Regions from separate parts of the Homo sapiens genome. Here regions 1, 2, 3 and 4 are each linked to region 5. Evidence: promoter capture Hi-C in 16 types of primary human blood cells and fetal thymus (Javierre and others, 2016). All regions are on one chromosome and are shown on one strand. Each heading gives the region's core, a stretch centred on a gene start or on the middle of the fragment in contact. The rest is flanking DNA. Distances are from core to core; before and after follow the strand shown.

The links. Contacts are between HindIII fragments. The CHiCAGO score rates a contact against its expected background, and 5 or more counts as called.
Region 1: a contact is called between a fragment that was not itself captured here and the fragment with the promoter of SPAG16 in region 5, in 1 of 17 cell types (non-activated CD4 T cells). The highest score is 5.1, in non-activated CD4 T cells.
Region 2: the fragment with the promoter of KANSL1L here is called in contact with the fragment with the promoter of SPAG16 in region 5 in 4 of 17 cell types (fetal thymus, total CD4 T cells, activated CD4 T cells and 1 more); the score reaches 9.4 in fetal thymus.
Region 3: a contact is called between a fragment that was not itself captured here and the fragment with the promoter of SPAG16 in region 5, in 6 of 17 cell types (non-activated CD4 T cells, naive CD8 T cells, total CD4 T cells and 3 more). The highest score is 17.2, in non-activated CD4 T cells.
Region 4: a contact is called between a fragment that was not itself captured here and the fragment with the promoter of SPAG16 in region 5, in 2 of 17 cell types (naive CD8 T cells and naive CD4 T cells). The highest score is 7.2, in naive CD8 T cells.

Annotation. Positions count from the first base shown.
Region 1 is chr2:216,365,612-216,370,772 of GRCh38, reverse strand. It overlaps MARCHF4 (membrane associated ring-CH-type finger 4), which reads left to right. Exons shown (of 4, transcript NM_020814.3): 1 at 1-1,028. The coding sequence starts at 513. Among named protein-coding and RNA genes, the nearest start is that of MARCHF4, 4.3 kb to the left of the region's middle. The HindIII fragment of the contact is 1,519 bases long and covers 1,508-3,026 here.
Region 2 is chr2:210,169,230-210,173,837 of GRCh38, reverse strand. KANSL1L (KAT8 regulatory NSL complex subunit 1 like) reads left to right here and starts at 2,429. Exons shown (of 15, transcript NM_152519.4): 1 at 2,429-2,689. RefSeq lists enhancers at 1,500-2,133, 2,134-2,769, 3,163-3,342, 2,770-3,404 and silencers at 2,213-2,542, 2,663-2,972. The HindIII fragment of the contact is 7,802 bases long and covers 631-4,608 here.
Region 3 is chr2:216,402,418-216,407,526 of GRCh38, reverse strand. All of the region lies in intron 1 of SMARCAL1-AS1 (SMARCAL1 antisense RNA 1), which reads left to right. Among named protein-coding and RNA genes, the nearest start is that of SMARCAL1, 7.5 kb to the left of the region's middle. The HindIII fragment of the contact is 2,376 bases long and covers 1,512-3,887 here.
Region 4 is chr2:216,477,162-216,482,091 of GRCh38, reverse strand. It overlaps SMARCAL1 (SNF2 related chromatin remodeling annealing helicase 1), which reads right to left. Exons shown (of 18, transcript NM_014140.4): 16 at 4,883-4,930; 17 at 3,793-3,889. Among named protein-coding and RNA genes, the nearest start is that of RPL37A-DT, 19 kb to the left of the region's middle. The HindIII fragment of the contact is 1,336 bases long and covers 3,013-4,348 here.
Region 5 is chr2:213,281,466-213,286,399 of GRCh38, reverse strand. SPAG16 (sperm associated antigen 16) reads right to left here and starts at 1,936. Exons shown (of 16, transcript NM_024532.5): 1 at 1,781-1,936. The coding sequence starts at 1,916. SPAG16-DT (SPAG16 divergent transcript) reads left to right here and starts at 2,191. Exons shown (of 3, transcript NR_161186.1): 1 at 2,191-2,367. RefSeq lists enhancers at 1,534-1,613, 1,684-1,733, 1,774-1,903. The HindIII fragment of the contact is 3,357 bases long and covers 517-3,873 here.

The sequences.
Region 1 (5,161 bases), core at 1,018-3,517, 3.1 Mb before region 5:
CTAAGCCCAGCTCAATCCACTCCAGATTTGATTTACAATTGTCCCCACCCTTTTATATAAAAGAAAGATTTCTCACTGCGTAGGAATTTGAGAAGAACCCAATAATCCTTTCCTGGGGAACTTTTAAACAATTCGACATTGATTTAAACAATTCGACAGAGGCTCTAGTGGCCCCTCCACCACGCTTCTTCAATCCCTCTGCTCCTACCAGTGTCCTCAGGTCAAAAGCAGAAAGGAGACACACTGAACAAAGTTGGAGGTTGGGGTGGGTGTGTGAGGGCAAGAAAAACTTTTTTGTTATTGGGCTTTCCAGGTGGAGTTCAGAACCAGTGACTCACACTTCTCAGTCCTGGGAGCAATTTATTTGCTACTTGGAGGGGTTGTAAGAAAAGCCAGTGAGAAAGCAGACTCCCCCCACAACACAGATCCACTGTGGACCCCCAAAACCTGTCCTGTCCCCCTCTTTTAAGACTCCAGCCACCCCTCTTGGGCTCTCTACTTCCACGGGGCACATGCTGATGCCCCTGTGTGGGCTGCTCTGGTGGTGGTGGTGCTGCTGCTCCGGCTGGTACTGCTATGGATTGTGTGCCCCAGCCCCCCAGATGTTGCGCCACCAGGGTCTCCTCAAGTGCCGCTGCCGCATGCTCTTCAATGACCTGAAGGTTTTCTTACTGCGGCGCCCTCCTCAAGCGCCCCTGCCCATGCACGGCGACCCCCAGCCCCCCGGTTTGGCGGCCAACAACACCCTTCCGGCTCTGGGCGCCGGGGGGTGGGCAGGCTGGAGGGGCCCCCGAGAAGTGGTGGGCAGGGAGCCCCCTCCTGTGCCACCTCCACCCCCCTTGCCACCTTCTTCTGTGGAAGATGACTGGGGTGGCCCAGCCACAGAGCCACCTGCCTCGCTGCTCAGCAGTGCCTCCTCAGATGACTTCTGTAAGGAGAAGACCGAGGATCGCTACTCACTGGGCAGCAGCTTGGACAGTGGTATGAGGACCCCACTCTGCCGCATCTGCTTCCAGGGGCCAGAACAGGTGAGTCCCCTTTTCTCTTCTCCTGCTTCCTGTGGTATTTTCAGGTCTTGCAGATTGCTACTCGCCTGCTTGCCCTGGGGAACGGTTATATTGTCTTTAGTATGAGGACTCTATGTTTAAGAGCCCTCATTGATGTTTCTTGTGGTTAAGTTTGCCCAATGAGTGTCTGGTTCCTGGTGGAGCCTGTTTGGTGGTTCGTTTGTGTTCTAGGTTTTGCATTTTCCTTCCAATGCTAGTGTCTCCAATTCCAACTCCAAATTTTACAAACATCCTCAGAATAGAAGATCTAGAAACAACGGAGTGAAGAAACTTGGTGGTACATTCACACTGGTTGCCAAGATATCCTTTTATCTAACTTGTTGTTAGTAACATTTCGTCTAGCCCATCTTCAGTCCCATATCCCAACTTCTTCCTGCTCTGAGAGTATGCCGAGATCTTGTTCTCTTTTCCTTTTCTCATAGGTTGAAATCCAGTAAGCTTGTTCTTTTACTTTGGACAACTTCCTTTCATATCACGTTGACATCCTCAGCATTATGTTCTAGCAACTGAGGAGGAAATGGAGAGGGATTCTAGGTCCAAGACTATATGATTTGCTGAGACACTTCTTGGCAGACTCAAATTTTTCTATGTTGAAAACAGGCAGGTAAATGGGAATGAGAATGAGTTTAAGAGACTGACGTAGGCAATAAGGTATCTTGCTATTTCCCTTTTCAGACCTAAAAAGTGTGTTGACTTAGAAAATCCCTTAAATGCTCCCCATCCAGGATAGGGATGCCAACTCTCATATGCACCAGGGCTTTTCCAAGTCTGGCAGGTTTTCCCTACCCTATTCATTCAGATTTTCACAGACACCCCTCCCAAGTTCACCTACAATCTAGTATCAGCAATGCTGGATAGCATGTGTACATTCTTCAGGAACTATAGAATGTGGCAACACTCTCCAAAGAATCACAGATAGAAAGGCTCACGCAGTTAGTGATGCTGGAGAAGGAGTATTCAATTGCAAGGTGGGCAAGGTTATGTGTTCCTATCAGCCACTTCTTCAATAGTTTCCTGAAGTGCAGGGAGGATTTCTGGATACTCCTTGAGGAAGTGGCAGTGCAGTAGGATGCCATGCCAGGCTTTGACTGGCTCTGGTTCTTGCTGAGGGTGTGCTCTGTAAGATGCAGGCTTAGCTGGCATTTTCATTCATTTTCTTGCTTTGCTCTCAATGGACAAAGAACTCTGGGGACCAGTGATCCCTGGAGCTACAGCTTGGAATTATGAGGGGAAGTGATATAGATCTTAGTGTGAATAAATGTCTCTGAGAGGCTGGGGGCTGGGTTCTTCCATCTTAAGATTACCTAAGTATCCAATAAAGTGTTGTCCAGAGTTGAAAACTCCTGTTAGGAAAAATCCTCCAGAGTGCCTTCCCTTCATTCTTTCTCTCTACTTCCAGCACCAGGCTCTGGCAGAGCTATGGGGTAGAGTGGCTCGGCTGACAACAAGAGGGTGCCTCACTTTGATATCAGGATCTTGCCACCATCAAGTACTTCATACTCTCCAAAAGAAAGAATTATTTGGCTTCCTAAATTCCTAAGGCATTTCTTTTTTCTCCCATATGGGCTCAGGTCTGCATGTCACAGGGGCTTCTGAGAGTGTGGCTTCTGGCAAGAGCATTCTTGTCTCTAGAAAACAGCAGGACTTGGAGGTGCCCTGGGATAATATTTCCCCCACTGTGTGAACTTTTTCAAATAGCTTCATGCCTCTGGGCTGCTTTTCCAACTTACGTGATTTGGAGACACCTTTTCATGCCCCCCCCTCCTTTCCTCAGAGGTGTGTTGGGAGAATCCAGGAGAAAAGAAGTGTAAAAATATCTTGGAAGGAATTTATATATAATGAGCATGTATTTTGATAACAGAAAGCTGTATTTTATTGAAAAAAGAAAAAGAAAAAAATCATTGGCAATATTGTGAAATACCCTCATGTGATACAAGATCTGGTCAGAGGTTAGAAGCTTTCCTTTCTTGTTCATTATTTTGATGGGGTGTCATAAATAAAGCATTGAATAAAAAAGCTAACACCAGTAAAGGAATGGGCTCTATTATGTGGGAGGATTAGGGGGCCCTGTCTGCATTAAGACTGGATCAAATTAAGCACTTCCTGCATATGATTATTTTGTTTTGGGGGTTTACCTTATCTGTGCAGGAGCCAAGAGGCTTTAATGGGATTGTGTTATAGTAGTAATAACAGCAATGTGAGTACTGCATTAGATGTGGAGAACACAGTTTCCCAGTTTCTTCTCATTTTTTTTTTCACAGCATTTCTATGAAGGAGACAAAGGAGGGGAGATAAGGGAAACTCTAGAAAAGGAAGAGAGAGATAGAGAGGCAACAGCAGTGAAGGGGAGGGAGAAAGAGAGGGATAGAGAGAGAAGGAGGAGGAGGAGGGAGGGGGAGAGAGAAAGAGAGAGAGACACGCTAAAATTTCTGTGTTTTAATTTCTGTTCAGGGAGAGAGCTGTCCAGCAATTGTCTACACATGGCCCTGGAGGAAATGTGGGCTGCAATCTTAGTAGCTGAATGTCTTGGTGTTATCTCTGCCCAAACAAAGGAATTAAGCAGACCCCCACCTCCCTGCTCCCCATCACCCCAATCATTTACTACTGCTATAGGGGCTAAACGACTGCCAAAAAATGAGTATTTGATCTTTTCCTGCCAACAGCTTGCAATATTTGTGGTGAGGAACAGCAAGAGAATCCAGCTAGTTTCACCTTTGTACCTATCTACAAAGGACTTTGCATCCATTCATTGGTGCATGCGTTTATTTAACAAATTTTTCGGGGCACCTGCAGTGTGCCCGTTGCTGTTCCAGGCATGAGTATTCAGGAGTGAACAAAATAGATGAGATTTCTGCTCTCCTGAAGCTGACATTCTAGTAGAGACACATAAATAGACAAGTAAACTAGTAAGTAAATAAGGTGATTTAAGCTCTGTGATGAAATTTAAAAAGGAAAATGAGTTAGAAAGGAATGAAAGGGAGGCAGTGGGAAAGGTACCACCACATTAGATAGGGTAATCAGGAAAAGTCTTCCTAAGAATGTGTCATCTGAGCTGACACCTAAATGATGAGAAGGGCCCAGCAATGCATAGGTCTAGGGGAAGAGAATTTCAGGTGAAGGAAATAGCAAGTTCAAAAGCGTGAATGTGAACGAGCTTAGCATGTTGGAAAAACAGAAGAGAAGAAAGGAAGAGAGAGAGAGAGAGATAGATGTGAACACTTGCTTTGAGAACCTACTTGGCTCCATCCTAGAAAGCTACTGAGTAGCCTCTCTCCTCTCCACCATTCATTCATGTTGAGCAGGGGTCAGGGCCCATGAGACTGTAGAACCAGAGTCCAGCTCACAACCTCCTCACTCTCCGTTTTTGGTTGAAGCTGCACTAGCCCACTTTGTGGGACAATGTACCATTGTGAGTAATCTGAACTCTCTGAAGCCAGATGGACCCAGTTGGAGGCCTGAACAAGTTATATAGCCTGCCTGTGTCTTGGATTCCTCATTTGTAAAGATGGAATAATAATAATAGTCCCCATGTCATAAGATTATTCTGAGCATCAAATCAGTCAATACTATAAGAGCAGTGCCATCGTAGCATTTTGTTATTGTTATTACTATCTCAGATGCAAGAGAGTGCTGTTCCTGCCTTGTTTAAAAGAAAAGGTGTGCCCCAGCCCAGAGGCTGTCAGGAAGCCACTATGATTGTGGCATGGATGTGGACTGTTTCTTGCAGATTTATAATGCTCTAGGCACAGAGCAGAGCTTGTCCGTTTCCATCATCAAAGTCTTTATTAAGCACCTACCTTTTGCCTGCTGTTCTGCTGGACAAGGTCCAGAGACATAGGGTAGATGTGGTCCTGCCCTCTGGGAGTCTCACAATCTAACCCAGACATCACAGGGGCTGATAGAGATCAAGAACACACAGACAGTGAGGCTGAGTGAATTACAGTAATATCAGGTACAAGAAGGAGATGCATGTTTAAAAGCAGCTAGTGGGCGGGGTGCCTACTCAAAAAGACAAGTCGGGGAATTTGCCACTTTATCTACAGTTAGTTAGAGAAGGCTTCTCTATTGCTTCTGAAGACCAAGTGAGAAGAAAT
Region 2 (4,608 bases), core at 1,180-3,679, 3.1 Mb after region 5:
TGATTGTGGTTTTCTTCTTTGTGCTTTCCTATATATTTTATATCAAACCTGTATTATTTTGTTAATCATCTCCCCACATTCCTATTAAACCGAATATAAAATAGGGAAAATGTACATGTATGATAGCTTGATAGATTGAAATATTTATTTAAGGTCTGTAACATTTAGCAGGCGGCAGGGCTGACTAGAAGATAAAAGAATTAATCTGGAGCGGCCGGGTGTTGTGGCTCACGCCTGTAATCCCAGCATTTTGGGAGGCCGAGGCGGGCAGATCACCAGGTCAGGAGATCTAGACCATCCTGGCTAACATAGTGAAACTCCGTCTCTACTAAAAATACAAAAAAAAAAAAAAAAAATTAGCCGGTCTTGGTGGCGGGCGCCTGTAGTCCCAGCTACTCGGGAGGCTGAGGCAGGAGAATGGCATGAACCCGGGAGGCGGAGCTTGCAGTGAGGCGAGATCGCACCACTGCACTCCAGCCTGGGAGACAGTGTGAGACTCCGTCTCAAAAAAAAAAAAAAAATTAATCTAGAGTATTGGAAACAGCCTACCTCCCACGGCTATGTGATGAACAAATTACATAATATATGTAGAAATGCTGTATGAATCACTATTTGTGTAGTTACAAAGCTTAATCCCTTTGTCATCCTCTATAAACTCCATGAGGACAGGGAATTTGTTTACTAATATATCTTCATTAGCCATCACAAAACATGTGTTCAATAAACATTTGGCAAATATATAAATATTTTGTTTGGTAGCAAAAAATTATTTCACAGGAGAAAACTACCATTAAATGATTTGATGTCTCTACAGTTCCTTCAGGTTAAAATCTGAATTCCTGTCATTCAAGATTTACTCAATCTAGTTGACAATGTACTTTTCTGCCCCCCAAATATTCACACAACATCTCCTCAAACCACCCAAGGACACTATCTCCTGAACTATTGATGCCTTCCTCCTCTCTCTTAAGTCTTTTAAACGTCCAACTCAAATCCAGAATCTTCCTTTGATCTATCTTAACACATGCTTATTAGATGTCTCAAACTGCTAATTAAAAAAACAAAACTTTAAAAAATACTTTATTCATTTTTGCATTTCTGTCCCCAGGGACTAGGACAGTCCTTTGAATATGGTAAATATCCAATAAATACTTACTGATTTAATTATTTTTCACAACACATCATTAGCTTACAATTTTTATTACAATGAAAGTAAATCAATTTCCTAAAATTCTTCCCTTGCCCCATATCGAGGTGCAATTATTCAGTAATTAAAAAAATATAGCTCCAATAAATGCAGCTGGTCATAAAAATTATTTCAGTAATATCACAATCTACTAGAAGAACCAGGAACGAGTAGCTAATTTTCCAATTCCAGTTATCTATGTTACGGATTACGCTTTGTTATGACTGCAATTCCTTGGATTTCTCCCCTCTTCCGCCCCCGGGATCTTATCCAATTGATAAGGTTAAAATAATGGCTATTATCCTTCTGGCTTAAAAAGCCTAGTGCTCTTCGTTCCTTAAATCATTTCATGTGTAAATTCGGTGCTTAGGAAAGACTGTGATACAACATCTAAGAAGCTACATTTAGAGTTCAGTTTTAAAAAAATCGAGTTCTTGGCTGGGGAAGTGCCCAGGTGCAGGTTTGTTTTGTGGTGAGCGGTTCGCGGGGCCAGGTGCAAGACGCTCAGAAGTGTTTTTGGGTGTCGCTGGCCAACTATCTCCACATAAACTCCGTTTGTTTATTTGACAGCGTTACTGCAGAGGGGAGTTAGGTCCAGCGCCACTCAAACCAGATTTGTAGAGACTTAAAACTGCTTTGTCTGTTTTTTTTTTTTTAATCATAAAACCACCCAGTTGGATCCAAGGCAAATTTGTCACCTACTTCAGGGCCCCTCTGAGGGTCAGAAAGAATTATGAGCGCATTTGAACGCACGGCCCAAATAAAAGCAAACGCACGGAGACTTGCGGACTTGACAATTGTGAGAAATCTCTTAAAACTCGCCTGTGGAGCGGCGGGCGAAAGCCGCGGACGCCAGCAGTAGTCGAGGCCCCGGCGCGGACGGCAGGGAATGAAGTCGCCTGACTTTTCCTCAGGGTTTTGTTTTTCTGTCACGGAGGTACAAAAATAGCAAAGCAGGGGTGGGAAGTCTCCTGGCCGTGTTTTTTTTTTTCCCCCTCGCCAGGGATGGCACTGGGAAAGAGAAGGGAGGAAGCAGGAGCTGCACGGAACCCGTCCCGAGGGAGCCGAGGTAAACCCTGCACCAGAGTTAAGGGAGTCGTGCTCCTGCCACTTCCAGAACACTCCGAGCCGCTTCTGCAGGCCCCGCCCCCTGCCGGGGTTTCCCCGCCACCCGCTTCATTTGCATGGCGCTGCCCCTCCCCCGTTGCCATTGGCTAGCGCCGGGCCCCGCCCACTGCTCCCAGACCGCGGCAGGGTTCCGTCCCCCCGAGCCGCACGGAGCTGCGGGCAGCGGGCGGACTGTTAAACCGCGGCGGCGGCGGCGGCGGCGGCGGCGGCGGCGGCGGCGGCGGCGGCCGGGGCGGGAGCGGGGCGCGCTCTGGAGACGAGTCAGCGGCGCCCCGGGTGGGGGAGGCGGGCGGGCAGCTAGAGATCACCTCAGCAGCCCCCACCACGGCCGGACCGAAGGTGCGGCGGCGGAGGGGAGCCAGGGCGCCCCAGCAGGCGAGTGGCCGGCGTCTCAGCGGCGGGATGACGGGGGTGGGTCTTCCCTCTTGGGGACGGCGGCAGCGCGGGGAGGGGAGAAGACTGCCGGGTGGACTTGCGGGTCAGGCGACCGACCGGCAGCCCCTTCGCCCCCCGAATCCTCTGGGCTGCTGGACTCTGGTCTCGGCACGGGATCGCGCTCTAGGGCGGGGGTCTGACCGCAGCCAAATTTAAACGGCTAAACCTAACAGCCTTGGCAGCTGGGGAGGGAAGGGGTCTAGGGAGGGGTGGGGGCGGACCTGGACGCCGGTCACGTGGGGGGTGGGGCTTGGCAGACCTCCCTTTTGTTTTGGCTGGCGCGTGCGCAGAAGGCAGAACACGTGGTTTCCTGGACCCGCCTCTTGCCTCATCGGCTGAGCCTCACCCATTGGGGGTGTGGTGACGGCTCTTTTGAGGCGGCTCTGAGGCGGAGCCCACTGGATTTGATGAGACCCCTATTTTATTTATTTCACACTTTCTTTCAGGAAAACGTAGATTTGGGCTTTAGAGTTAGATGGGATAGAGCAGAATCTAGGGGATTTTTGAGGGACGGTGCTTCCAAGTTTGTGTCACCGGTGTGCTGAGGAAGGGACCGGTCTTGCTGGAAAAAGTCAGATTGCGTGGTGTTTGGTAGCAAGAAATACCAGGCGGTATCCTGGCCGTTTCAGAAACCACAGGAAAGGAAAGAGGCTGGCTTTGCAGTCGGGAGGGCAGGCACTGGATGGACGTTCTTGTAATGTTTTCTTACTCTGGGAGAGTCCGTTTTTGTTTGTTTTTTTGTTTGAACTGTGGTAAGCACATTCCGTTTTTGATTCCCCAAACTTCAGGACATTCATGTTCTGGCGAGGTTTAGGAGACAAACTTCCTTCGTCTTTAGCCAGTTTGCTTAACTTCATCTGAGTTTGGGTCAGTAATAATTTTAAATATTGCTGGATGGGGCAGGTTTGTTAGCCACAAAACCTAAGTGAAGTGAGCACTGCAGACAAAACTGGCAATTTCTGACTAGGAAAAAATGACTCTAAAAATAATTCAGTATTGAGAAAGAGGCTTAACAGTGAGTGGTCTCTGCCTTTCCCGTTCTTAATAACTAGCCATTTCTTTGGGTTAGTCACCTCTCTGATGTCAAACTTGTTTCGTTTTTGTAAAGTTTCATAATATGGTCTCTGTCTTAAGAGATTGTAAGAAAGAAGAAATGCCTTGTATTAGGAAAAGTGATTCCTAATCTCTACCAATTGCCAAGTAGTGTTATTTTTATAACAAAAGTGAATTTTTTAAAAGCCCACATGTTGGGGAAATATAAACAATGAATTAATCATGAAATAGAATATATTTGAGTATCTTTAAAATCTGTTGTAACCATTATCTTTGGTTCTCCCTCAGTTTCCACCTACTTAGATCAGTGTCAGCGTCTGCAACCATTTCCTCATGGTTTTAATCTACATAGATTATTCTCTCCCGCAAACTGTCTGGAGTAATTTTTTATGTGAAACTTCTTAATCCAGGCCAATTCTCTCACATTGACTTTTAACATTTACATTTTAATTTTGTTTCATGATGCGCCTTTGCAAATAACAATCGATTATTTTGTTAAATCTTATTATTATAAAGTAATTGGAAAATAGATGAGTGCAAATAAGAAAACTATAAATATTTTGTACTTTAAATATTTCTGTCTGCATATATGTGTATTTTTCCTAAAACTGAGACCACATGGTATTTTCATTTAACTCAGACATTCGCATATCATTATTCTTTGAAAAATATTTTTAATAGCTGCTTAACATTTCGCCATGTAACTATCATATTTTAAATTTTTTCTGTTGGCACGTATGTGGGATGTTTCTGGTTTTGCTAGTGTATATTTCACTACAGACAATATCCTTTTACATAAACCTTTG
Region 3 (5,109 bases), core at 1,450-3,949, 3.1 Mb before region 5:
TTCCAGTCTATAACTCTTAATTATCCACCTTGTGTACTCTAGGGTCCTCAAAGTTTAATAGCAGCGCTACGAATACATTTCAAGAGAATCTGTCTCATTTTCTTTCCTTAACCCATAAAGTGAGATTTAGAAAGGACCTTAGAGAGCATTAATCTCTCTTTAGAACTAAAGAAATGGAAGCATAGAGAAGTTAGCTATGCCTGATGTCATAGACCTGGCACAGGCCAGGCTGGAATGAGGCACCTCAGTCCCCTAGTAGGGCTCTTTCTAGATGCTAATTAAATATACAGATAGTGATTGCATGCTTGCCCTTGCCTGACAGTGTATGTCTGGGCACCTAAAGTAGTTTCAAGTCCCTCTCTGTGGAGCTTACCTGATAGTGATGTAAGTACAGGGCTTCCCTCTTCCCTCAGCAAGGATTCCCTAGAGAGCACTTGACAGCCCTTTGGGGAGAGCTTTTTTGACAGCCACCCCTAGGGCATGTCATCGCTCAGGTTAATTACACCTAGAGTGCTGTGATGAGATTCAGGAGCAGATGCAATGCTTTGGGTGGAAAAGGAAGCTATTCCCTCTCAGATGCTGCCAGTTGGCAAAGACATTTGCATATCCAAAGCACAGAGGAGTAATGTAAAGGTTTATAAGCCAAGAAATTCACCTTCCTTAACGGTTGTTCCGTTCTGATGGACTTAATTGCTTGGAGTCTGACAGTTCCGTTTTTCTTCCTCCTCTTGTCTGCCTTCCTCTAGCCCTCCTTCTCCCTCGACTCTAAATGTCTTATGAAGACAGAATCTTCGTGTAATTTCTTTACACCACGCATTCCATGGCTTGGTATGAGGGTTCTCCTAGTGTCTTAATTTCTCTAACTGGTCTTGGTGGCTGTGATTAGTTCACAAGCCTCTCTCTCAAACCTGGCACATTTTCTGCTGGGATGGCTTTGTCTGTCCTTTGCTAAAAGCACCCACCTAGACACCCTGCTCCAGTGTTTTTAGACTTAGGAAATTTTACTTTTTTCTGTTTCTTCAATATTGCAAATTCCACTTTGTTCATATTCATCCATTCATTCTTTTTTCAACCATTCATTCTTTTTCTTTTCTTTTCTTTTCTTTTTAGACAGGGTCTGAGTCTGTCACTCAGTTTGGAGTGCAGTGGTGCAACCTTGTCTCACTGCAAACTCTACCTCCCTGGCTCATATGATCCTCCCACCTCAGCCTCCCAAGTAGCTAGGACTACAGTTGTGCACCAGTATGCCCGGCTACTTTTTGTATTTTTAGTAGAGACAGGCTTTTGCCATATTGCCCAGGCTTGTCTCGAACTCCTGGCCTTAAGCAATCTACCCGCTCAGCCTCCCAAAGTGATCCCCCAAAGGGATTACACGTGTGAGCCACCACGCCCGGCCTTCATCCATTGATTCTTATATTCACTTAACAAAAATTCAAGGACCTACTATGGGCTGCACGGTGTGCAGAAGCACCAGGGCTGCATTACTGATGTCACCCTTTTTAAATAAAGCTTACAGTTTAGTTAGGGAGGCAGATCCCCCCCACACAAAAGAAACAAAAAGAAACAAATCAGCTAAATGATAAGTGCTGTGAGGGACCTAAACAGAGAGCCCAAGAGGACACTTAAGAGGGAACTATTTCAGAGTGGTCAGGAAAGGTGTCCCCAGGGGAGACCTGAAGGAGGAGAGGAGGCAGCCATGCGGAGCTCAGAGGGAAGCGGGTTCTGAATGAGCTGTAGGGGCAAGCAACATCGAGCCCAGGCAAGGAAGAGCTGAGCTGGGCATGTTTGAGAAGTGGAAGTGAGGCCGGCTTGGCTGGAGGAGGTGCGAGAGGATGAAAAGGACACAAGATGGGGCTGGGGAGAGAAATAGGACAGATAACGTCCAGGTTCTTCAGTACCACGCAAAGACATTGGGAATTTGTTCTGAGAGCAGCAGGAGGCCCCTAATGAGATGCAAACCAGAGTGGAGTAACTTGTGTGTCTCAGGAAGCTACTTGCTGTTGTGTGCAGAAAGCCCCACAGAAGGGCAGAGTGGGGATAGGAGGACCTCTTAGGAAGCCGTTGCAGGAGTCTAGGGAAGAGATGATGGTGATGGAACTGGATGGACAGGTCAGAAAGCTATTTGGAGGTAGCTCCAGCACCATCTCTCTATCTCACAAAGCCTGAATGTCTGAGTCTAGCACATGCACATAAAGTGATGTGGCACATAAAGTGATGCACATGCACGTGCAGGGCTCTACTGCTCACCCCCTGTTGGCCACAATAGACATGAAGTTGGCTTAGAAATTCAAGTTCGGCTAGACGTGGTGGCTCACGCCTGTAATCCCAGCACTTTAGGAGGTGAGGCGGGCAGATCACTTGAGGTCAGGAGTTTGAGACCAGCCTGGCCAACATGGTGAAACCCTATCTCTACTAAAAATACAAATAAAATTAACTGGGTGTGGTGGCGCATGCCTGTAATCCCAGCTACTCAGGAGGCGGAGGCAGGAAGATCGCTTGAACTTGGGAAGTAGAGGTTGCAGTGAGCCGAGATCGTGCCACTGCACTCCAGCCTGGGTGACAGAGTGAGATTCCCCCCAACCCCCCCAAAAAAAAGAAAGAAAAGAAAAGAAAAAGAAATTCAAGGTCATACACTAAACTTTCTTTTTCTTTTTTATTTTTTTGAGACACGGTCTTGCTCTATCACCCCAGGCTGGAATGCAGTGACATGATCGTAGCTCACTGCAACCTTGAACTTCTCAGCTCAAGGGATCCTCTCACGTCAGCCTGTTGAGTATCTGAAATTACAGGCACACGCCACCAAGCCCGACTAACTTTTAAAATTATTTTTTGTAGAGATGGGGTCTCACTATGTTGCCCAGGCTGGTCTTGAACTCCTGAGCTCAAGTGATCCTCCTGCCTTGGCCTCTCAAATTGCTGAGATTTCAGGTGTGAGCCATCACATTGGGCTGAGCTTTCTTATGGACCATTTCTTCCTGCATATGAGGTAGCTTCTTTACAGAGACATAGATTGGAAAAATTATGTTCTTTCATGATTATTAAGGGAGAATGAAGGCAAAGGGAAGCCAAGTAGCTTGTGCAAGGATATAGAGAACGCTGGAGCCCAAACTTGATCTCAGGCATCCTAGTTTCTTCTACTCATCCAGCAGGCCACTCTGTAGCTCCAGCAAGTGGAGCACCATAAGCCTTTGATCAGTAGTCTACTCTTAATATATATAATTGTATCCACCACACTGGAAATTGCCTAAGTGTTCAAAGTGCATTTTTGTCTACAGATGTTAAATGTTAAGGTTGGATTAGAATTGGCTGTCTGCAATGTCCCTGAGGACCACAAGGGGGCGAATAGATAGGCTGCCTGTGTCCCTCTGTCCCTCTGTCTCACCTGCCCCTCTGTACTCCTTAATTTTTTTTATTTATTTATTTTTTTGAGAGGGAGTCTCTCTCTGTCGCCCAGGCTGGAGTCCAGTGGTACAATCTCGGCTCACTGCAACCTCTGCCTCCTGGGTTCAAACGATTCTCCTGCCTCAGCCTCCCAAGTAGCTGGGATTACAGGCACTCGCCACCACGCCCGGCTAATTTTTGTATTTTTAGTAGAGACAGGGTTCCACCATGTTGGCCAGGCTGGTCTCAAACTCCTGACCTCAGGTGATCCACCCGCCTCGGCCGCTGAAAGTGCTAGGATTATAGGCATGAGCCACCGCACCTGGCCTACTCCTTAATTCTACATGTGTATGCTTTGTCTCTTTGTGTCATTCTTTTTCATTTTATTATAGTAAATTATATCTATTTACTTTTTATCTTTCTCTTTCTCTCTCTCTCTCTCTTTTTTTTTTTTTCTGTGCTCCTCTAACCCCACATCCAGCTGCCCATAGCATGGAGCTAAAGCTTATTTCGCCCAGTTTGCCGTATGTGTTAAATTGCTCCTGGTTTTCAGTTCTCAAAGGGTACAAGTGAAACATTTCATATTTCCCTCCTCTAGCCTTTCCTCACGCTGATTTGATGTTTTCTTATATGGCCACCAATTGCCTTCCTCTTTTCTAGCTGAGTGGTCTTCAATAGAAAAAGAAAGAGGGGTCTACCCCTGACTGAAATAAAATAGCACACACACAAACAAAAGGCCAATCAGTTCTTAAGGAATTTCCTGAGTAGGGGAAAGGAAGGCTTTGAGGCCTGCATCCTGTCTCTACTGTAACTAAGATGGCACCAAAATAACCATCCAAAGTGTGGGATTCCTGTGGATCTGGGCAAAAGGCAATTCCTTCCTTCCCTTTCTCCAGCATTTCACATTTCTTATTGTCAGATTATTCTTTTTAATGTTTGCTCCAAATTATCTGCAAATTCTGTCCAAATTCTCTGCAAATTTGTTCTGTCCATGGGGGAAAGATAAATGGAGGGGCTGCTAGCTATTTTGTGTTCCTGTTGACTTGGAGGACTTACAATCAGCCCCTTGCACAGAGCCAGGCTACAAGCTGCGGGTTCAGACCTCAGGGTGGGGAGGATACAAGGCTGGCTTTCTGCCCCAAACAGACCTATTTATATCTGCATTCGATGGAGGCACAGCCCAGACTAAATCAGGGAGAAGGAACGGTCCCATTCATCGCAAGGATAAATTACCCTAATTGAGTGGTTAAGAGCCTGACTGATTTCTAGATACTTTACAGTAAGGGACCTGCTACTCCTAGATGCAATAATAGAAAACCACGGGCCATCAGAGCCATTTGGGAAAGAGCATTAGCATCCCGTCTGCTCACATCCTTGGTCCTCAGCACTGGTTTCCAGGAAATTAGCTCCCTTTTAACAATCAGTGCAATATTATTTGAGTTTTTACCTTAATTTTCTCTTGTACGTTTCTGAAAAAGCAGGGTCTCTTTTTCTTATCCCTACATGTATACATGTGCAGTATATGCCTTTTATTTTTAATTTTTTTCATTTTTCCATGTTACGACAGTATATGCCTTTTACATTTGACACAAATCTCTACTCTGAATTACGAAGGTAAATCCCCACGTCCCTCTACCCTGCCTCCGTAAAACAGGCAACTCTGGAATTCCTCCTCCGCACCCCCTCCAGCTTGCTATAGGCACAGACACCTCTGCTTCTGGAAAAAAT
Region 4 (4,930 bases), core at 2,431-4,930, 3.2 Mb before region 5:
TAACATATTCATAAGTAGATATGTGTACCTATTCTGATTACCTTAAATTACAAATAATCAAAATACCCACCAACTGCATCTATACATTGATGACAATGGTGTAGTGTTAAAACCATGCCCAGTGGATACAACCACAACACACGATCACTATCACCCCTCTGCCGATTTTTCCTACATCTAAATTTCCAACTTTGACCATTTTTCAATTTAGAGGTATATTTTCCATATCTCCACTGACATCCCACAGTTTCATAAAACTAAACTGGTTTAAAATCAAATGATCTTTTGGCTGGGCTCAGTGGCTCTCACCTGTAATCCCAGCACTTTAGGAGGCCGAGGCGGATGGATCGCCTGAGGTCAGGAGTTCGAGACCAGCCTGGCCAACGTGGTGAAACCCCATCTCTACTAAAAATACAAAAAATTAGCCAGACATGGTGGTGCGTGCCTGTAGTCCCAGCTATTTGGGAGGCTGAGGCACAAGAATCGCTTGAACCCACAAGGCAGAGGTTGCAGTGAGCCATCATCACGCCACTGCACTCCAGCCTGGGTGACAGAGTGAGACTCTGTCTCAAAAAAAAAATAAATACATAAAAATAAGGCTGCTGCAAGGGCTCACGCCTGTAATCCCAGCACTTTGGGAGGCCGAGGCGGGGGGATCATCTAAGCTCAGGAATTAGAGACCAGCCTGGGCAACATGGCAAAACCCCATCTCTATCAAAAATACAGAAAATTGGCCGGGTGTTGGCAGCATGCGCCTGTAGTTCCAGCTACTCGGGAGGCTGAGATGGGGGGAATCACTTGAGCCTGGGAGGCGGAGGTTGCAGTGAGCCAGCATAGTGCCACTGTACTCCAGCCTGGGTGACAGAGTGAGACCCTGTCTCTAAATAAATAAATAAATAAATAAATATAAAAAATCAAATGATCTCTCATCTCCTATATTCTCAAAGCAGCTTCTCTTCCCATAAGTCTAGTTTTTATAGTCTACCTGCATTCTCGTAGTCTCCCAGGTGGAAATCATCCAGGCAAACAGAGTCCTCGGCTTATGCAAGTTTGTTCCCCCCATTAGTTCCCTCCTCTCTCCTTCAGGCACCATCTTTACTTGGGCCACATCACTTGGTACTGCATGGATTTGCAACAGCTCAACTGCGCTTCCTGCCTCAGGCTTCTTCCCATTTCAAACAGCCTACAGATCTTTGCCAGCTGATTTTTACCCCCAGGCTCTCCTTTAAAGATTTTTTTGGTCATGTCTTTGGGCTCCGCTGTCCCTACCTCATCAAGTCTACAGTTGCTCCCCTGGCTTTTCAGGCCTTTATAGAATTAGGTCTCAACGTACCTGGCCACTGTTCCTCACTATTCCTTAACCAAATCCCTCCACATTGGTGAAGTAGAGTTCCTTGAAAATTGATCATGACAGCCTGTCATGTAAGAACTCCAGATTATTCAATTAACCTGCACCCGAAATCTCCTAGCCTTTCAGGATCCCAGCCTTGCAGAGAGGGAAATGATATGAAAGATCATCAAGGCTGACCCCCAAATAACCCACATGTCCTCCTCCAGGATGCCCTCATCAGCCTCTTTCTGAATGACTGCAATGTCAAGGAAACGCCACCCTGCAAGGCAGCCTATTCCAAGTAGAAAAAGCTGCTAATGTGCATTTGATTATGATGATGGCAACACTGTATGCTGACTCGGGGCATGCATAATTAATTGGAAGCGAGTTCCAAGATCAGATTAATATTTCATTTCCCCTCTCAGAAGGAAGGCTATCTCAGTGAGATATAACCTCTTCTGCTTTTGTCTCCTATATTGGAAGCAACATTTTCTTTTTCTAGTAGTTGATAAAATTTTCAGCCCCATCTTAATTAAAAAATAAATTGATATAGTTATTGATCAAAATATTGATAAAACTCATTTATATTACCTTGTACTTATATTTTAGGTAGAAATGCTTAACCAATTTAGAGTAAGAGAAAGGCAAGGAGGAATAAATGAGTTCAAGTGAGAATCCTTTAAAAATAGGCTTTCTTTTTTTTCTTTTTTGAGACAAGGTCTGTCTCTGTTGCCTAGGCTGAAATGCAGTGGTGTGATCTTGGCCCACTGCAACCTCTGCCTCCCAGGTTCAGGGAATCCTCCTGCCTCAGTCTCCTGAGTAGCTGGGAATACAGGCATGTGCCATCATGCCTGGCTAATTTTTGTATTTTTTGTAGAGATGGGGGTTTCACCATGTTGCCCAGGCTGGTCTCAAACTCCTGGGCTCAAGTCATCTGTCCGCCTCAGTGTGGGATTAGAGGCTTGAGCCACTATGCCTGCTCAGACTATTTCTTTTCAAAAGGCTTGTAATAACCTAGGCTCTGTTACCATTTACCATTCAGCTGAACTGGAGAGTTCTTTAAAAAGCTTAAAAATAAGGTTGTTTTAAAATTGGCTTATTAACTATATATGTCTGAAAGGATAATTTGCAGTCTGCATTTAAAAATATGATCTGAGTCTTATTTATCCCAATATTTAGCAAATAAATCCTTGCAAAGAAAGAATTTATTTGCTAAATAAATGTAAGTGAATGAGCAGATCCACAGAGTCTTAAGTCTTGGTGTCAACGATAAGATTTAACTCAACTTCTTATTTATTTAAACTTTTTTCTTTCTCTTTTTTTTTTTTTGAGGCAGGCTCTTGCTCTGTTGCCCAGTTTAGAGTACAGTGACCATCATGGCTAACTACAGCCTTGACCTCCTAGGCTCAAGTGATCCTCACCTTTTCCTCTGGAGTAGCTGGGACTACAGGTGTGCACCACCATGTGTGGCCTAACTCAATATTCTGATGGTGATTTCACAGGAAGGAGGAGGTGCTTCACTTTCCTGATAAGCTACCGTAAGGCCCCTTTCTGCATGAGGCTCAGACCTGGTTCAAACTCTCCTGGCAGAAACAATTCAACCATGAGCTGTGCTCGAGGAGGGCATACTCCTGGTTTTCACCTTCTGGCCAACAATCCAAGCTGGGGAAGGAAAACAAGCTTTTGGAAGGCTCTGGGTCTCTTGCTCACTCCACTGTGTTTCACTGAAATGGGGGAGGAAGAGTCTGTGGCAGCCACTGGGCTGCAGCACTGAAACCAGGCAGGCATGATGGGCCCAGGGCTGTCCTGTTCAGAGGCAACAGCCTTCCCCCTCAGCACCTTTGACAAGGCCTGCCTGGTCATGGAGGGATGCCTCTTATACTCCTTTACAACAAGGGCTGAGCTCAAAGGAGGAATGCTGGGCCAAGTCAGGAAGCCTTCTTCCTTGGGCTGGCTTCACATGCCCTGTGACTTTGTGCAAACCTACTATACTGCCATGTCTCAGTTTACCCCTCTATCAAGTGGGGAGACACTGAGAATAAATAAAATGACAGAAGGGAAAATATATTCTATGAAGCCAGTACCCTATTTTAAACACTCCCCATTCTGTGCTGGGGATGCATTCCTGTGGCAGCCCTATGTGTGGTGTTGCTGTGTACTTTTTGAAACAATTCAACATTTGCCATGGGGAGTTTTGTCAGTTTCTAATGGCCTGCTGGAAGAGGCAGCATTCAGAGCCTGTGCGGGAATGTCAGCAGCTGTAGGAGCTAATGCCATCATTTCCCCATAAAGCGATGCATGCATGGTTCAACTGAGAATGACTGCAGGCCATTGTTTTCAGCTCTAGGCTGGGGGAGGTCCCTAGGAGTGATTCACATCCTCCTACTCAGGACCCAAAGACTTGGCAGACAGCTTAATGCCTCCCTCTGCTCCAGGGGTGAAGAGCCATGTGCTGGCATTACCTTGTAGAGGTAATCAGTGGATTCTGTCATTTCTGAAAAATTGGTCTCAGAAAGCCCGGCTTCTGCCAGAACTTTAATCTTCTCTTGAATCAGGGGCCTGTTGGGGAGAAATGAGCTGCAGTGAATACAACCTGCACAGAACCACCAGACTAATGAAAATGAGGCCACCCTCCTTGTTCTTATGGGACAACGGCTTGTTTACGGTTTCACATCTCTGCATCTCTCAAGGTGCAAACACCCATCTTGAAAAATTTGCCCCCTCTCATTTGTAAAAACTCCAATTTAGGGCTAAGAATATCATCAGGTTCAATATTCTTTCTAATGGAAGATGTGTAGGAAATAAATGCTGCCTCATTTCAACACAATTTTGAATCTGGTGGTATTATGAGCTGCCCAATTAACAAATCCACTAAAAAGGGGGAAGTAGGAGTGACCCACACACATTGCAAAGGGAAGACTCCTTAGTCATAAGGCTGGAAACAGAGACAAGCAGTGGAAACAAATGAGATAATCAAGAAATTTTGTATCAGGAAGGGGGAGATAAGGGGAAGAAGCTTTTTGAGATTTTTCACTTAGGTAACAGACAGAAAACCCTAGGGTTGAAAATCTTACTCCAGCTCTGCTAACGAAGTACACTACACAGTCCAGGGTAAGCCACTTTCTCCCTGTGGTCCAGCAGCAGCAATGTAAGATGTGCCCACCAGATAAATGCACATCATAAAAGGTAAAAGACTGTCACCCTGTCCTAACAAATGCCTTCACAGCTGGGAACAGGGTGTTTTACAAACTAAATTCCATCTATATTTTGTCATAATCAGCACTTCTCCCTGCCTCAGACCAGCAGCAAAAGGAGCCACAACCCCTTATTGCTATAAGATTCAGCATGCACCCTGCAAGCCACCAGTGAACGCTAGTGAGGGAGGCCAAATATGGTCATGATGAAAGCAGGAGGGCATCACTAGTCAATTTTCTATAGATCCTTAAAGACCTTACTTAGCAAAAGCAGAAGCACTTTGGGAGCAAAGTAAACATATCATCAGTTTCCACCCTTGCTCGACTCCAACTGCCAGGCCACCCAACCAAGCCATACCAAAGGTAGTCATCAGCTGTGCCCTTTGCCACGAGGTAGTGAATGCCC
Region 5 (4,934 bases), core at 687-3,186:
TGAGAGTTGAAATGACTAAACCTCTTCCCTCAGCATGGAATATAGCAAAATAAACTGGTTAAATGTTTAACTGTGTATCCCCTGACTACCATTTGGTTAAAATACAAAATAGCAGTCAGTCAACCAAAGAAAGAAGAAAAGCAAATGGGTTGGATAATTCACACAACGGTTAGTAAAATCCTAAAAAGTTACAGTTGCTTATATGTGTTAAAGTTCAAATAAGTGTGATTATTTGAAAAAGTCTTTGTAAGACAGGTTTGCAAACTGCTACATCTTGGCAGGTGTGACTCAGTGATCTCCCTGCACATTAAGTAAACCTGATTTTCATTGCTGAAAGTTGTGTTATGTTAGACTCCTACCATTTATTTCACAAAGATGTTTGCAAAAAGTTACCTCATTGTGTCAATCTCATGTTAACAATTAAACTATGTGTTCACGGAAATAATTTTAATGCAAACAAAATTACAAGATGCCTGGTTACCATTCAGTAGCAAGGGCACTGGATATAGATAAGCTTAGGAAGAATTATGAAAATCGTTGTTAAAGAGGAATATCACTGGAAAAGACTGCCTGTTACATCTACGAAAACAGTATAAAACCTCATTTATGACACTAAAGCACCCATATATTTCTTTCAAATTCATTTCAAGCGATTCAAATTTCTATTCCTGTAAAAGTCGTTTTTGCACCCAATAAAATACTACATATTTTCTTTAATCTTTCAGCTAAATTCTTCAAAGCTCTCTGTAGTGTGGATGTGTACTGAGCCTGAGTCAGGACAGGTTAATCGGCTTGTCAAAGCTCACGAAATGAATCATTGCTGGATTTCTGAAATCTTGAATTAAACCTGGAGAGGATTACAGTTGGACAAACAAATAAGATTTGGCAGATTTTGGAGTTTCCTTGGTATCTTTAAGAACTGAACAGATAATCATCTCTTTCTTACCTCCCTGAATAAAGGAGTTACATGTCTTTTTCTCATGAACCCTCCCCGTCTCCCTAGTAGGAATTAATCTATATAACTAGAGGAAAGAAGTTCTAAAGCCTTACACAAGAAATAGTGGACCTAATTATCCACACATTGTTATTCAATTTTTCTGGTACTTCCGATAAAAATCGCTAATCACCATCTGCTTTATTCCTAATATCTCTGAGCTGTGTAGCTCACCAGATCATTATTTATTTGCTCAAGAAAAAAAAGCAACTATACTATTAGTATTTATTATTAAGTAGTCAAACTTGGAACTACTCAGGAAGATAATGCTATCAAAACTAAGCATTTAAGCATTAACTGGACCATCGAACAGGATCGTGGGTTGGGTATTCTGAGCTTCAGCTCCTTAAAGTCCAATGGCAGAGGTCTTTCCCTAGTCTCCTAACGTTCCTCCGTTGAATTTATTGGGACGGCTTTCTGAAAGATTGAGGGCTTATTTAGGAAACCCATTATTTGAAAGGAGGGTTGAAGCAATTTGTTGTGCTGTCTTAACATAAAAAGCAACCCTCCATCCAAAATGTACTGAGTGGTTACTAAGTATGAGGCCTTGGAAGGTCTCCCAACTCTTCTAACAGGTACAGGACACCCTGGGCTACTAAGGGCGAGAAATTCAGTGAGTGGCTCTCAGGAAGACTGTGGTGGCAAAAACAGCACCTTGAAGTCCAACAGAGGCTCCTCCGGAGTGGCCCCAAGGCTCAAAAGGCGCCGCCAGTGGGAGGCCCTCGCCTTCGTCCCAACACCCATTACCCGCCAGCGCAGCGGGCCGCGCCTCCACGGGAAGGATACGTTCCAGGTAGTAGGCGCCCTCAGCCGCCACCGCGTCCGCCGTGTCCCTCGCGTCCCCGGCTGCCGTCAAACCCATGCCCAACGCCTCTTCCAGGACCCTCACGGCGGAGCTGGGCATCCCTCGCTGAGCAGCCATCTCTGGCGCTTCGGGCCCCCACCCCCAGCAGGCCCACAGCCGTCCCTAAGGGCAACAGCGAAGACGCTACCCAACGGCCCCCGGGAGCTCTCGCGAGATTCCGGCATCTCTCACCCCGCCCCACGGACCAGCCCCGGGCACGTAAGGGTTACCGGGAGTCCAGGGAGCTGTCGCCCTCCCGCGCCTCCCAGTTACCGTGGCAACGATGTTGCCTAGTTAACGCGAGAGCTCGGGCGCAGCTCTGGGAGCGGACAAGATACAGTAAACAATTGGCTTGCATTGCACCTTCCTACCCAAGCAGCTTGGTTTTCTTTCGCTTTGACCCTGTAATTTCTTTCCCACTTCGTTGTCGTCTCTGAATTACCTTTCTCTTGATTCTTGCCCATTAGCATCCTCCAATTTCAGATGTTTGTAGATCCCCAAGTGTTCCCAGGGAAAACTACTAGAAAAGGTGAGTTCTCAACACCTGGAATTTTTTAAAAAATGAAAAAATAAAGTTCTAGAAATCATAATAGAAAGACTGACCCAGGGGAGCTACCAGACGCTCCTCAGATGCTTAGCAATGAAGAACTATGGTGTTCAGCTTTGTCAATTCCTTTCTTGTGATCTTTAATGCATTTAGCTGGACATCTGTTTTGAGTTTGGTTCCATATACTAAGACTTGGAATAGTATTTGTAGCATTGATTCTCGCCAAGGTAAAAACAGTTGCATAAAAATTATGAGCTACAAATTTGGTCCTGACAAATGTATGCAGTTGACACTTGCCCCATCATGTATAGTCTTATTGCTGAGAGGATCTTCCTCAGGTTATATCGCGTATGTATCAGAAGCAAATTCAAGGCCCTTTTCTTTGCAAATATTTTTTTTTCCCTTAACTTTTATTTTAGGTTCAGGGGTACAAGTGCAGGTAAGCTCATGTCGCAGGGGTTTGGTATATAACTTATTTCGTCACCCAGGTACTAAGTGTAGTACCCAATAGTTATTTTTTCTGATCTTCTCCCTCCTCCCACTCTCCTCCTCAAGTAGGCCCCAGTGTCTGTTGTTCCTTCTTTGTGTCCATTTGTTCTCATTATTTAGCTCCCACTTACAACTAAGAACATGCAGTATTTGGTTTTCTGTTCCTGCATTAGTTTGCTAAGGATAATGGCCTCCAGCTGCATTCATGTCCCTGAGAGGACATGATCTCATTCTTCTGTGGCTGCATAGTATTCCATGGTATATGTGTACCACATTTTCTTTATCCAGTCCGTTGATGGGCATTTAGGTTGAATCCATGTCTTTATCATGAATATCAATGAACACGCATGTACATGTGTTTTTATGGTAGAACAATTTCTGTTTCTTTGGGTATATACCCAGTAATGGGATTGCTAGGGCAAATGGTATTATTTTTCATTCTACATTTCTTGGTGAAAACTGGAAGCCAGTGATCCTATAAAAGCTCCCATTTATTACCAAAAGGTAGCAGTAACTTCCTAAGGAGGTGTTTGAGAGTACGTGTGTCAGAGCCAGAGAGACAGCTTTCAGAGCCTGCTTCCATCACTTACTAGCTATGACACATTGGGCAAACTACTACTTAATGCCTCTAGGCCCCAGTTTCATCATTTGTAGAACAAAGACAACAATATTACCTACCTCAAAGTGCTGTTGCAAGGGGTAAAGCAACAAAAAGCATTAAGAACTTACTGGGAACATAGAAGACACTAAGAAATGTTAGCTGTTATTTCTATTAAATGTGTTTGATATTGTTTTATTTTTTAGAATAATCAAGGGTCACAGATATAATAGTCGGGTAATTCATTCCTGGTACCTATTCTTTTACTACCCTACTCTTTGTCCTTGACTTCTCACATCAGACATTTCCTGAGTACTCATTAAATGCAAGGAACAATTACAGGAGGCTGAAAATACAGAAGAATTCTGACATTGGAGAATCCACTGCTTTTACAGAAAGCTTTCTCTTTATTTCAGAAGAAGGCATTACCTTATCTCTCAAGGTTGTTTCCTATAAATCCAGCCTTAACAAATGACCTGGGTAAGGAGTGGTCAAGGCCTTACATTTTTGGCATATCCAGCAAGACATGTAGGAACACAAAAGACATGAAGGATGGTCTCTCAGAGCGATTACTGTTTACTTTTATTTGTTTTTGTTCGTTACAATGGCTCATCTATTTCTGACTTTTTAGATGTAGTGTGTGATCTTCTACAGATGTTTGTCTCCTGCCTCTTCTGTATGACCTTAATTAAGTTCTCTGAGCCTTAGTTTCCTGTTCTGTAAACCGGAGATTTTAGTACCTACCTTACTAAAGTATGAAGACTAAACGAAATATGTAGAAAGCACTTATAACCATGTCTGGTATATCAAATGTTTTCAGTAAATAATCGTTAATAAAATGTGCTTAAAATATTGAATGAATATGCAAGCTTAAATTAGATATTATATTTGGAAGAAACTTAAACATATAGAAACAACTTAAGATAAAAGTTAAATATTTTTAGAAATATGCAGCACTCAGCCAGGCACGGTGGCTCACGCCTGTAATCCCAGCACTTTAGGAGGCCAAGGCAGACGGATCACAAGGTCAGGAGATCGAGACCATCCTTGATAACATAGTGAAACCCCATCTCTACGAAAAATACAAAAAATTAGCCGGGTGTGGTGGCACATGCCTGTAGTCCCAGCTACTCAGGAGGCTGAGGCAGGAGAATCACTGCAACCCGGGAGGCAGAGGTTGCAGTGAGCTGAGATCACGCCACTGCACTCCAGCCTGGACAACAGAGCAAGACTCCATCTCAAAAAAAAAAAAGAAAGAAAGAAAGAAAAAGAACGAAATATGCAGCACTCAAAAAAGGGAAACAGTTTAATAGAGTCATATAAAATGAATAAATTGTGACCAATATCCACTGCTTAATGTAGAGGAGAAATGGGAAAAAATTCTTCTCCAAAGAGTTCAAAAACAGAAGACTTATGACTGAAATAAGTATCATTAACTACACTCCTCAAACAAATAAAAACC